Regions from separate parts of the Homo sapiens genome. Here all the other regions are linked to region 3. The links are contacts of gene promoters, found by promoter capture Hi-C in human tissues and cell types (Jung and others, 2019). All regions are on one chromosome and are shown on one strand. Each heading gives the region's core, a stretch centred on a gene start or on the middle of the fragment in contact. The rest is flanking DNA. Distances are from core to core; before and after follow the strand shown. Region 1 overlaps TPTEP2-CSNK1E (TPTEP2-CSNK1E readthrough). Region 2 has its middle 11 kb from the start of ELFN2. Region 3 holds the start of MICALL1 (MICAL like 1).

The links. Contacts are between HindIII fragments. The study calls those that stand out against the background at their distance.
Region 1: a contact is called between a fragment that was not itself captured here and the fragment with the promoter of MICALL1 in region 3, in 1 of the 25 tissues and cell types used here (liver).
Region 2: a contact is called between a fragment that was not itself captured here and the fragment with the promoter of MICALL1 in region 3, in 1 of the 25 tissues and cell types used here (spleen).

The regions. Positions count from the first base shown.
Region 1 is chr22:38,306,653-38,309,861 of GRCh38, forward strand. All of the region lies in intron 6 of TPTEP2-CSNK1E (TPTEP2-CSNK1E readthrough), which reads right to left. All of the region lies in intron 2 of CSNK1E (casein kinase 1 epsilon), which reads right to left. Among named protein-coding and RNA genes, the nearest start is that of CSNK1E, 9.2 kb to the right of the region's middle. The HindIII fragment of the contact is 4,739 bases long and covers 1-3,209 here.
Region 2 is chr22:37,436,991-37,440,215 of GRCh38, forward strand. No RefSeq gene overlaps it. Among named protein-coding and RNA genes, the nearest start is that of ELFN2, 11 kb to the left of the region's middle. The HindIII fragment of the contact is 6,756 bases long and covers 1-3,225 here.
Region 3 is chr22:37,904,325-37,907,620 of GRCh38, forward strand. MICALL1 (MICAL like 1) reads left to right here and starts at 1,973. Exons shown (of 16, transcript NM_033386.4): 1 at 1,973-2,244. The coding sequence starts at 2,099. RefSeq lists enhancers at 664-1,479, 1,480-2,295, 2,296-3,111, 3,112-3,296 and silencers at 1,586-2,305, 2,416-2,525. The HindIII fragment of the contact is 31,369 bases long and covers 1-3,296 here.

The DNA of each region.
Region 1 (3,209 bases), core at 155-2,654, 400 kb after region 3:
CCCAGGAGGCAGAGGTTGCAGTGAGCCGAGATTGTGCCACTGCACTCCAGCCTGGCGACAGAGCAAGACTCCATCTCAAAAAAAAAAAAAAAAAAATTAAAAATTAGAACACAGCATCTTCTTATCAGCTGATACCTTCGTATCAGCATCTGCTGTGGGTTCCGCATCTGCCGATTCAACCATGGATCAAAAATACGTGGGGGGAGAAAATAAAAAATAACAACACAACAATAAGAAATAGGTTGGGTGCAGTGATGCACAACTGTAGTACTACCACTTTGGGAGGCTGAGGAGGATTACTTGAGTCCAGCGGTTCGAGACCAGCCTAAGCAACATAGTGAGACCCTATCTCTACAAAAAATACAAATATTAGCCAGGCGTGGTAGCACGTGCCTGTGGTCCCAGCTACCTGGGAGGCTGAGGCAGGAGGACTGCTTGAACCTAGTAAGTCAAGGTTGCGGTGAGCTATGATCACACCACCACACTCCAGCCTGGGTGACAGAGCAAGACCATGTCTCAAAAATAAATAGGTAAATAATATAAAAATTAAAAATACAGTACAATAACTATTTACATAGCATTTACATTGTATTAGGTATTATAAGTGATCTAGAGATGATTTAAAGTATATGGAGAAGGCCAGGTGCCAGCATTTTGGGAGGCTGAGGCAGGCGGATCACCAGGCAAGGAGTTCCAGACCAGCCTGACCACCATGATGAAACCCCATCTCTACTAAAAATACAAAAATTAGCCAAGGTGCTCCCGTGGGAGCGCCTGTAATCCCAGCTCTCAGGAGGCTGAGGTAGGAGAATCTCTTGAACCTGGGAGGCGGAGGTTGCAGTGAGCCGAGATCACACAACTGCACTCCAGCCTGGCGACACAGCGAGACTCCGTCTCAAAACAAAAAAAAGTATACAGAGGATGCGCGTAGCTTATATACAAATACTACAGCTTTTTATATCAGGAACTTGAGAATCAGAGGATTCTGGTATCTGAGGGGGATCCTGGAACCTATTCCCCACAGGTACCGAAGGTGGAGGGCTGTATTTTCTTTTTCTTTTTGAGACAGGGTCTCAATCTGCCACCCAGGCTGGACTGTAGTGGCACTAACACAGCTCACTGCAGCCTCAACCTCTGGGGCGCAAGTGAGCCTCCCACTTCAGCCTCTCGAGTAGCTGGACTACAGGCGCAAGCCACCACACCTGGCTAATTTTTGTATTTTTTGTAGACAGGGTTTGCCATCTCTAGGCTGGTCTCCAACTCCTGGGCTCAAGTGATTCACCTGCCTCAGCCTCCCAATGTGCAGGAATTACAGGCATGAGCCACTGTGCCTGGCCCAGGAGGGCTGTATTTTCATCACCCTGAAAACACCTGTAGCCTTTAGTGGGGTAAGGTCCTATCTCCTCGCTCCATCCCCTGCCCCCCAACTAATCTACATTCTGTCTCTATGGATTTGTCTTTTCTGGACATTTCACAGAAATAGAATCAAACAGAATCATACAACGTGATTTTTTGTGACTGGCTTCTTTCACTTAACACATTTTTGTGTTTTGATTTTTGAGTATTTGGATTTTTAATAAAAGAAAAAGAAAAACAGAATGAATAACTCAATCTAGCCAGCAACAGGAATGAAAGTACTTTGCAAACTGTAAAGAGCTTTTGACACATCAATGCTCGTCACTGGGATGAGCCACACAGGTTTCCAGGGGACAGTGAGGATCCTTAGAGTCCCCTGGCCATGCTCCATTTCCCCATGAGCAGAGAGGCAGGAGAGTGCAGCGGTTGAAGTGTGAGTTTCAGAGCCAACCTACTAGAGCCCAAATCCTGACTCGGACATCCCCTGGCCAGGGGTCGTCGGACAAGGCACTTCACCCCTCTGAGCCCCAGGTACCTCATGTGTAAACCGATGACACTATCTGGCTCATTGGGATGTTCTGACAGACAAACATGCTTACAAGAGTGCCTGGCACACAGTCAATGCTCCATGATGTTCGGCTTGGTGGGAAGTGCAGCCCCTAGGCTAGAGATGAGCCGGTGTCCACCCAGTGGGAGGAGGGGAAGAGGGAATAAGCCATGCTATGAGGAAAGGAGAGCCTCCGGGAGGGCAGGCTGCAAGGGCTCCTGGCTCCCAAACAGGACTGTACTGGACAGACAAGAGAGGTCACGGCACAAGCAGAGGCCCAACAGCAGCAGGTGCAGCGGGAACCATGGGGTGGCAGAAAAAGACAGTGGAAGAGGTGGGCAGGGAAGAGATCTGAAGGGTCTTGAATGGCCGGCTAAGATCCTGGCCTTCAGCCTGAGGCACCAAGGGCCATGTTCAGGTGTGTGATCACAGGATCTCTCAACCGTGGCACTACTGACACTGGAGCTGGAGAATTCCTGGTTGTGGGGCTGCCCTGGGCACTGCACAGTCTAACAGCACCCATGACTTCTACCCACTAGATGCCAGGGCACCCCTTTCCCCCTGAATTGTAACAACCAAAAGGTCTCCAGATCTTGACATATGTCTCCTGGGGGACAAAAATCACCCTGTTGAGGCTACCTGGTGGATACGAAAGGGCTGGAGGAGGCTAGAGGGGTAGTGGAAGGCCTGGGAAGGCCACTACAGAGACCAGGCAAGAGCTGACGGTGGCCCTGCCTGGGCAGGGTGCAGAAACTGATTGACACTTTGGAGGCAGGGCCTGCAGCACTTGGTGATTCGGCAGATGTGTGCAGGGAGGAGAGGTGCTGGGGAGGTAGTGGTAGACAGGGCCCTCTTCCCCTCGAGCCCTTACTCCACTCTTCGAGTACTACTGTTTGTATTTCTTTTTTCTTTTTTTTTTGAGACAGCTTCACTTTGTCGCCTGGGCTGGAGTGCAGTGGCATGATCTCGGCTCACTGCAACTTCTGCCTCCCGGGTTCAAGCGATTCTCATGCCTCAGCCTCCCGAGTAACTGGGATTACAAGCAGACACCACCACGCCTGGCTAATTTTTGTATTATTAGTAGAGATGGGGTTTCACCATGTTGGCCGGGCTGGTCTCAAACTCCTGACCTCAAATGATCTGCCCGCCTTGGTCTCCCAAGTGCTGGGATTACAGGCGTGAGCCACTGTGCCTGGCCTACTGTTTGCATTTCTGTTTGACATGTGGAAAAACAGACACCAAAGGTCAAATGATCATATGCTACAAACTTCCCAGGGACAGGGACCCAAGCTGCTAGGCAAAGCCT
Region 2 (3,225 bases), core at 285-2,784, 470 kb before region 3:
CCTGTCTGATGTCTTCTTATCATTAATATGGGTCACAGTGGGGGAGAACAGCCCAGAGTTATAGTACATTGTCACTGCTACATGTCAGGGGGTACAGGATGGATCATTGGTGATACTAACCCTGGTCACTTGGTTAGGGTGGCGCTTCCTTCGCTTAACAGATAGGCCTTAAACTGAGGCCTGGAGAGGTGAAGCTGCTTGCACTGGAGTGATGGTAGGGCAGGAGGTGAACCAGGCCCATCTGACTCCCATTATCCCACATTCATTGGAGTTTTAGGCAGGGAAACTGAGACAGAAGCCCAGCTCTAAGAGTGGGAAGGTGAAAAAAGCTGTACCATGGAGTCTATTCGGTATGCAGCAAGAAAACTGAGCCCAAGACTTCTTTTTTCGGGGGTAAGGCCCCATCAGAATGGGCCTGGGGGCCTGGAAGCCATGGTAGATGCCAGCCAAGAGGAGTGGGGAAAGGAAACGGGGGCAGGCACGAGGACCATGGGAAGGAAGAATGAAGGAAGGAGGGAGTGGTGAGCACAACTGCTGGAGCAATCCAGGAAGTCTCCTTGGAAGAGAAAGCCACAATTTTAAGAACAGTCAAGAGAGCAGCTCAGGTGTGAGGTCCTTCCCAGGAGACAGAGAGTAAAGTATTTAAGACCACAGGCCAGGCTGGGCGCAGTGGCTCACACCTGTAATCCCAACAATTTGGGAGGCCAAGGCAGGTGGATCACTTGAGGTCAGGAGTTCAAGAGCAGGCTGGCCAACATGGTTAAATCCCAGCTCTACTAAAAATACAAAAATTATCAGGCTGTGGTGGTGGGCATCTGTAAACCCAGCTACTCAGGAGGACGAGGCTGGAGACTTGCTTGAACCCAGGAGGCGGAGGTTGCAGTGAGCAGAGATTGCGCCATTGCACTCCAGCCTGGGCGACAAAAGCAAAACTCCGACTCAAAAAATAAGACCACAGACCCTGGAGTCCGAGAGGCCTGGGTTTAAACCCTTGTGCTACCACTTCCTGACTGGTGATCTTGGGCAAGTCACTGCTTCCCAAACTAATGGGGTTTTCTAGCCCCCAGGTCTTGCCTGTCCTGCTCACCTGTCTGAAACGGTCATTCCTGAACCAGCCCCCGACCTCCCCAGCCTGAACCAGCTACCGATTTTGTGAAGCTCAGTGAAAAATGAAAATCTGGACTCTGGACTCCTTGTTCAAAAATTATTATGAATTTCAAGACAGCAATAGCAGAGCATTAAACCAAGCACGGGATCCTTCCAGGTGGGGAGCCCTGAGCGAGTGCGCAGGTTACATACCCTTGAGGCTGGCCCCGTCCCCGGCCTCAGTGACCACCTGAGCCCTGTGATCTGATGTCCATATTTTCTCTGCAGTTCCTTAACTGTTAATCACAAGCTGTCTGCCGCAGCTGCTCAGACCGTCATATCGAACGGTTGCTTCACTCACACATGTGTTTTCTTGTCTTGCCCTGGGTGGAAGGTTAGATGCAATGGACTCCAAGGTGCATCCAACAGTTAAATTTGATGTCCTTTAATTTAATGGCTCTAATATTTTTCACCGGGAAGCTTCTGAGCTTAAAATGCTGAGTCAAGGGGTCAGAGCTTCCCCTGTGCGGTCTCAAAACCCTGATGATCCCCAGGCAGTTTGGAGGTTTCAGATGAAAGAAGGTTGTTAGAATTTCATTCACTGACATTTTGCAAATTTGAAATGTGAAATTAATTGCGATTTTTGCAGGAATTGCTCAGTTCTTCAAGGTGCTGTGTGTACTATACAGTCCATCCATCCAAAATGGGTCCAAAGGAAACCGGGTGCCATGGCTTATGCCTGTAATCCCAGCACTTTGGGAGGTCAAGATGGGAGGATCATCCAGCTCAGGAATTTGAGACCAGCCTGGGCAACACAATAAGACCCCATCTCTACCAAAAAAAAAAAAAAAAATCAATCAGGCACAGTGGTGTCATCTGTAGTCCCAGCTACTTGGGAGGCTGAGGTGGGAAGATCACTTGAGCCCAGGAGGTGTGGCTACAGTGAGCTATGATTGTACCACTGCACTCCAGCCTGGGTAACAGAGCAAGAACCTGTCTCCAAAAACAAAAACAAAAACAAAAACAAGGGGTTCCTCAACAGCCCTGAGCCTGGCTGGCACATTTTTACATGTTTTGCATAACTACTTGTTAACTTTGCATTTTCTCCCCTTATTATCGTCAAGAGGCGGAATATTGGAATCAACTGTACTCATCTCTTATCTCTTCCATGAGAACATATGCAAGTTGCTTAATCTCTCTGGGTCTCAATTTCTTTATCTGAGAAATGGAGATTAAATGAGTTCTATGTCTTCTGGTGATCATTGCTAATTAGAAATTCTAGTGGTGCGAAAAAAAAAAAGGCACACCTGCTTTATTTTGCTCAAAATTTTGTGGGTCAAGAATGGAAGGGCTTAGCTGGGTTGTTTTTGCTTGGGGTTTTCATGCAGTTAGCCTCAGATGTCTGCTGGAGCTGCCATTATCTGATAGCTCAGCTGGGATGGGTACAATCAAGATGGTTCACCCGCACAGCTGGCACCTGATGCCTGCCATCGGTTGGCAGCTCTGTTGGAGCTGGTGACTGAAGTGGCTATCTGCAGCAGAGCAGAACCAGAGGAGCCGGGCTTATTACATGGCAGCTGACTTCCCCCAGAACAAGCATCCCGGGAGAAACAGGAGGAAAACACTTGCCCTTGGAAATGACAAAACATCACTTCTGCTGTTTTCTATTGATATAATAGAGTCACTAAGTCCAGCCCACAATTAAAAGGAAGGGACATAGACCCCACCCTTCAACAGGAAGAGTGTCCAAAATTGGGGTCATGTTTTAAAACCACCACAGTATTTATAAAAAGCACTTACAGCTGGGCGTGGTGGCTCATGCCTGTAACCCCAGCACTTTGGGAGGCCGAAACAGGCAGATCACCTGAGGTCAGGAGTTCAAGACCAGCCTGGCCAACATGGTAAAACCCCATCTCTACTAAAAATACAAAAAAATTAGCCGGGTGTGGTGGTGTGCACCTGTAATCTTAGCTACTTGGGAGGCTGAGGCAGGAGAATCACTTGAACCTGGGAGGTGGAGGTTACAGTGGCCCAAGATCGTGCCACTGCACTCCAGCCTGGGCAGCGAGAGCAAAACTCCGACTCAAAAAATCAAAAAGCACCTAGAATAGTGCCCAGCACATAGTTGGCCCTACGTAT
Region 3 (3,296 bases), core at 723-3,222:
ATTACAGTGAGCCACCGCGCCTGGCCCAATTTTTTGTATTTTTAGTACAGACGGGGTTTCACTATGTTGGCCAGGCTGTTCTCAAGCTCTTGACCTCAGGTGATCCACCTGCCTCGGCCTCCCAAAATGCTGGGATTACAGGTATGAGCCATGGTGCCCAACCCCGCCCCCCTTAGGTTTTAATGAGAGTCCTGGGTGGTCTTTGAAGGCCTAGGTGGATGCTGGTGTCAGGATCCTGAACCCAAGTCCCTGATTTCATAAAAAGCATCCGGAATCCTGCTTTCCTGCCACTGTTATCCCACAGGGGACAGGGCAGGAGTTGGCAGCTCAGGGCTGGTGAGAAGTCCAGAGGGCTAGCCAGGCACTCTGGCCATGCTCTTCCTAGGTGGCCTGAGAGTCCATATACTGAGCCAAGATGGCGGCCTTCCAGTTGCAGGAGTGTTAGGCCAGCCCAGATTGGCAAGCTGGGTTCTCCAGGCCCTGGGCCAGTATTCTGGACTGGGACTCAGTGGACTTTGAAGAGGTAGAATTCCCTAAGTCGGCCTCTCTCCTTGATAATTTACCCAGAATGGCCCAGATGACAATCTGGGTACAAAATATTTCAGTCCATTTCATCATGTTTACCAAGTACCAGGAGTCAATAGAATTTATGAGTGATAACTAAAGGGTAAGGCACTTTACATCTTAATCCTCTCAGCCACCTTGTAAAGCAGGTATTATCTCCATTTTTAAGTCGTGGAAACTGAGGTCCAGGGAGGCACAAGATCACATGACTAAGGGAGTGGGGAAAGCCAGGATTGGAGATTGGGTTAATAGGGCTCCAAAATGCCTGATCTTTCCACTCCCCTGAGTGCTCAGGGGTGATGAAGATGACTAAGACCCTGTTCCTTCCCTTGGGAGGGAGCGAAATACCCACTCCAGCTAACTATTGCATGGGTCAGGGTGACATCACCACCTCTGCAGCAGATGGAGGCTGATTCATCTGTGGGAGAGTCAGGAGGGGCCTCTGCGGAAGGGTCGGCTGGCTGGAAGGGTTGGCTGGCTGGAAGGGTCGGTTGGCTGGCGGGGGTTTTGAAGACGGCAAAGATAGAGAATGAGCCTTGGGGAGGTTCCAGGGCCAGATACAAACTGCCTGTATGCCTCCCAGGCAGGGGCCTCCTTGGCCTAGGTCCTTCCCATAGGAACTCAAACCACCACCACACTAACCATGGCTGAGGGGACCCGGCAGGCCGCAGTGGGGAGGGACGAGATCCCTGAGCTTACACAGGGGCTGAGGGGAGCTCAGTGAATCACCTAGGGGACACCTGGACCAAAGGTGGCGGAGGGGCGCATGGGTCTCCCTGCCAAGCTATGGGGGAGGGGATGGTGGACATGACAACTTCCAGCTCAGCGGTGCTTTAGGGTGGGGAGCCGGGATGAGGGAAGCTGGTGGCTATCCGGGGGGGGGTGCTCTGAGGTCTGCAGGGGAACTGCCTCCCCAAAGTTTCAAGCTAGGGGTGGAAGGGGGGATTTGCGGTCATTAGGAGCGGGAAGGAGGCCGGATGGGAGCACGAGGTGTCCCGCCTCCAAAGGGTGGAGGGCTCCCGGTGGGTGGCGCGGCGGCGGCCGCGGCGGTGAAGTCATCGTGGGGAGTGGTCCGCTTGCGGCGGGTGCGGGGGCTTCGCGGGCACCCAGTGGAGCAGCGGGAGCCCGGCGCCGTCGAGGGGCGGGCGATGGGGCGCCGGCCCGTCTTGGTAGGGGTGGGCTCCGCACTGGAGGCGGAGCTGCTGCTGGGTGGGGCGCGCCTCCGGCGCGGACGGAGGCGGCGGGACGCCCGCTCCCACGACCGGCCCACAATGAGGCGAGCGGGCAGCGCGGAGTAGGCGGCGGCCGGCCGGGCCGGGCCACGCGGCGGCGCTGCTCGGGCAGGTTAGGGCAGGGCCGCGGGGCGCCCGAGCGAGGACACCGCGGCCCCGCCTCCGCCCCTCCCCTCGCCTGCCGGTCGGCGCCCGAGCTCGGAGCCGCAGCCGCAGCCGGAAACCGGGCCCGCGCGGCGGCCGCCGTCCCGGCCAAGCCGGGGCCCCGAAGCCAGAGCCGGAGCCGGGCGGGCCGCGGGGTCATGGCTGGGCCGCGGGGCGCGCTGCTGGCCTGGTGCCGCCGCCAGTGCGAGGGCTACCGCGGCGTGGAGATCCGCGACCTGAGCAGCTCCTTCCGGGACGGCCTGGCCTTCTGCGCCATCCTGCACCGGCACCGGCCCGACCTGCTGTGAGTGCGGGGCCCCGGGCGAGCGGGCGGCGCGGGGCGGGCTGGGGCCGCGACCGCCGCCCCCCCTCAGTAACACGAAGCCCGGGCGGTGACAGGCGCCGCCCCCGGACACGGAGACGCCGACCCCCCCGACGGCCCCGGACGCCGGGCGGGTCCCTGAGACCCCGGCCCAGGGCGCCCCTCCCCCGCCCGGCCGCCCTGACCCCGCCCGTGGGATCCCGAACTCTCCCCCGAGGCTGGTCCCTCCGCGGGGACACTGGCCCCGCCCACAAAGCGCTGATTTCCGCCGAGGATCGCTGAACCCCTAAGCCCTTGACCTCTTTGAAGGGGTGTTGAGCCCTCTTTGGGGGCCCTGGGCCTCTCCTACCCTAAACTCTTCTCCACGGGCTCGCCGGGCCTCCCCTCTCCCCCGAGGCTTCCCACTCGGGGTGGCCCCTTGCTCCGGGTGTGCAGGTGAACCCCCACTTCTCTGACCCCCAAATAGGAGCTTGTCTCCGGACAGTAGCACAGTTCCCGGCACAGAGGAGACCTCGGCTAACAGGTGTTGGATGAATGGATGTACAGACCCTGTGCTTTCCCCACGCCCCCCAACTTAGGACGCAGCCCTGCCTCCCGGGTGTGTGCTCGATGGCCCTGCAGCCCTCCTCAGTGGGGCACGCAGGTGGGGCGCGCAAGAGGAGTCACAGGCCGGCAATGTTGGGAAGACTCCTAGGATCCGATTGATAGACACCAACCGGGTGCTGCAGGTTGTGAAATGGCCCCTTCCTGCCCAGAGCTGCCCAATGAGGTTCTCATGGGAAAATGCATTCAGACTCCCCGGAACAGTTGACTTGGAGCCTCTGTCTTTGCTCTCTCTGCCTTGAGCCCTGGAACCTCTCCTCCTTTCGTCCCTTCATTCCTAAAACACTGGGTGAGTTTATCTGGTGCCATTCCTTGCACTTCAGGTCTCACCTGTGAATCAGGGAGGAGAGTTCTGGTCCCTACCCCTTTCGCATGCAGCCCTCTTGCCAGGGCTCCCCCAGCCTGGCAGATGGAGGCTTTCTGTGCCTGTT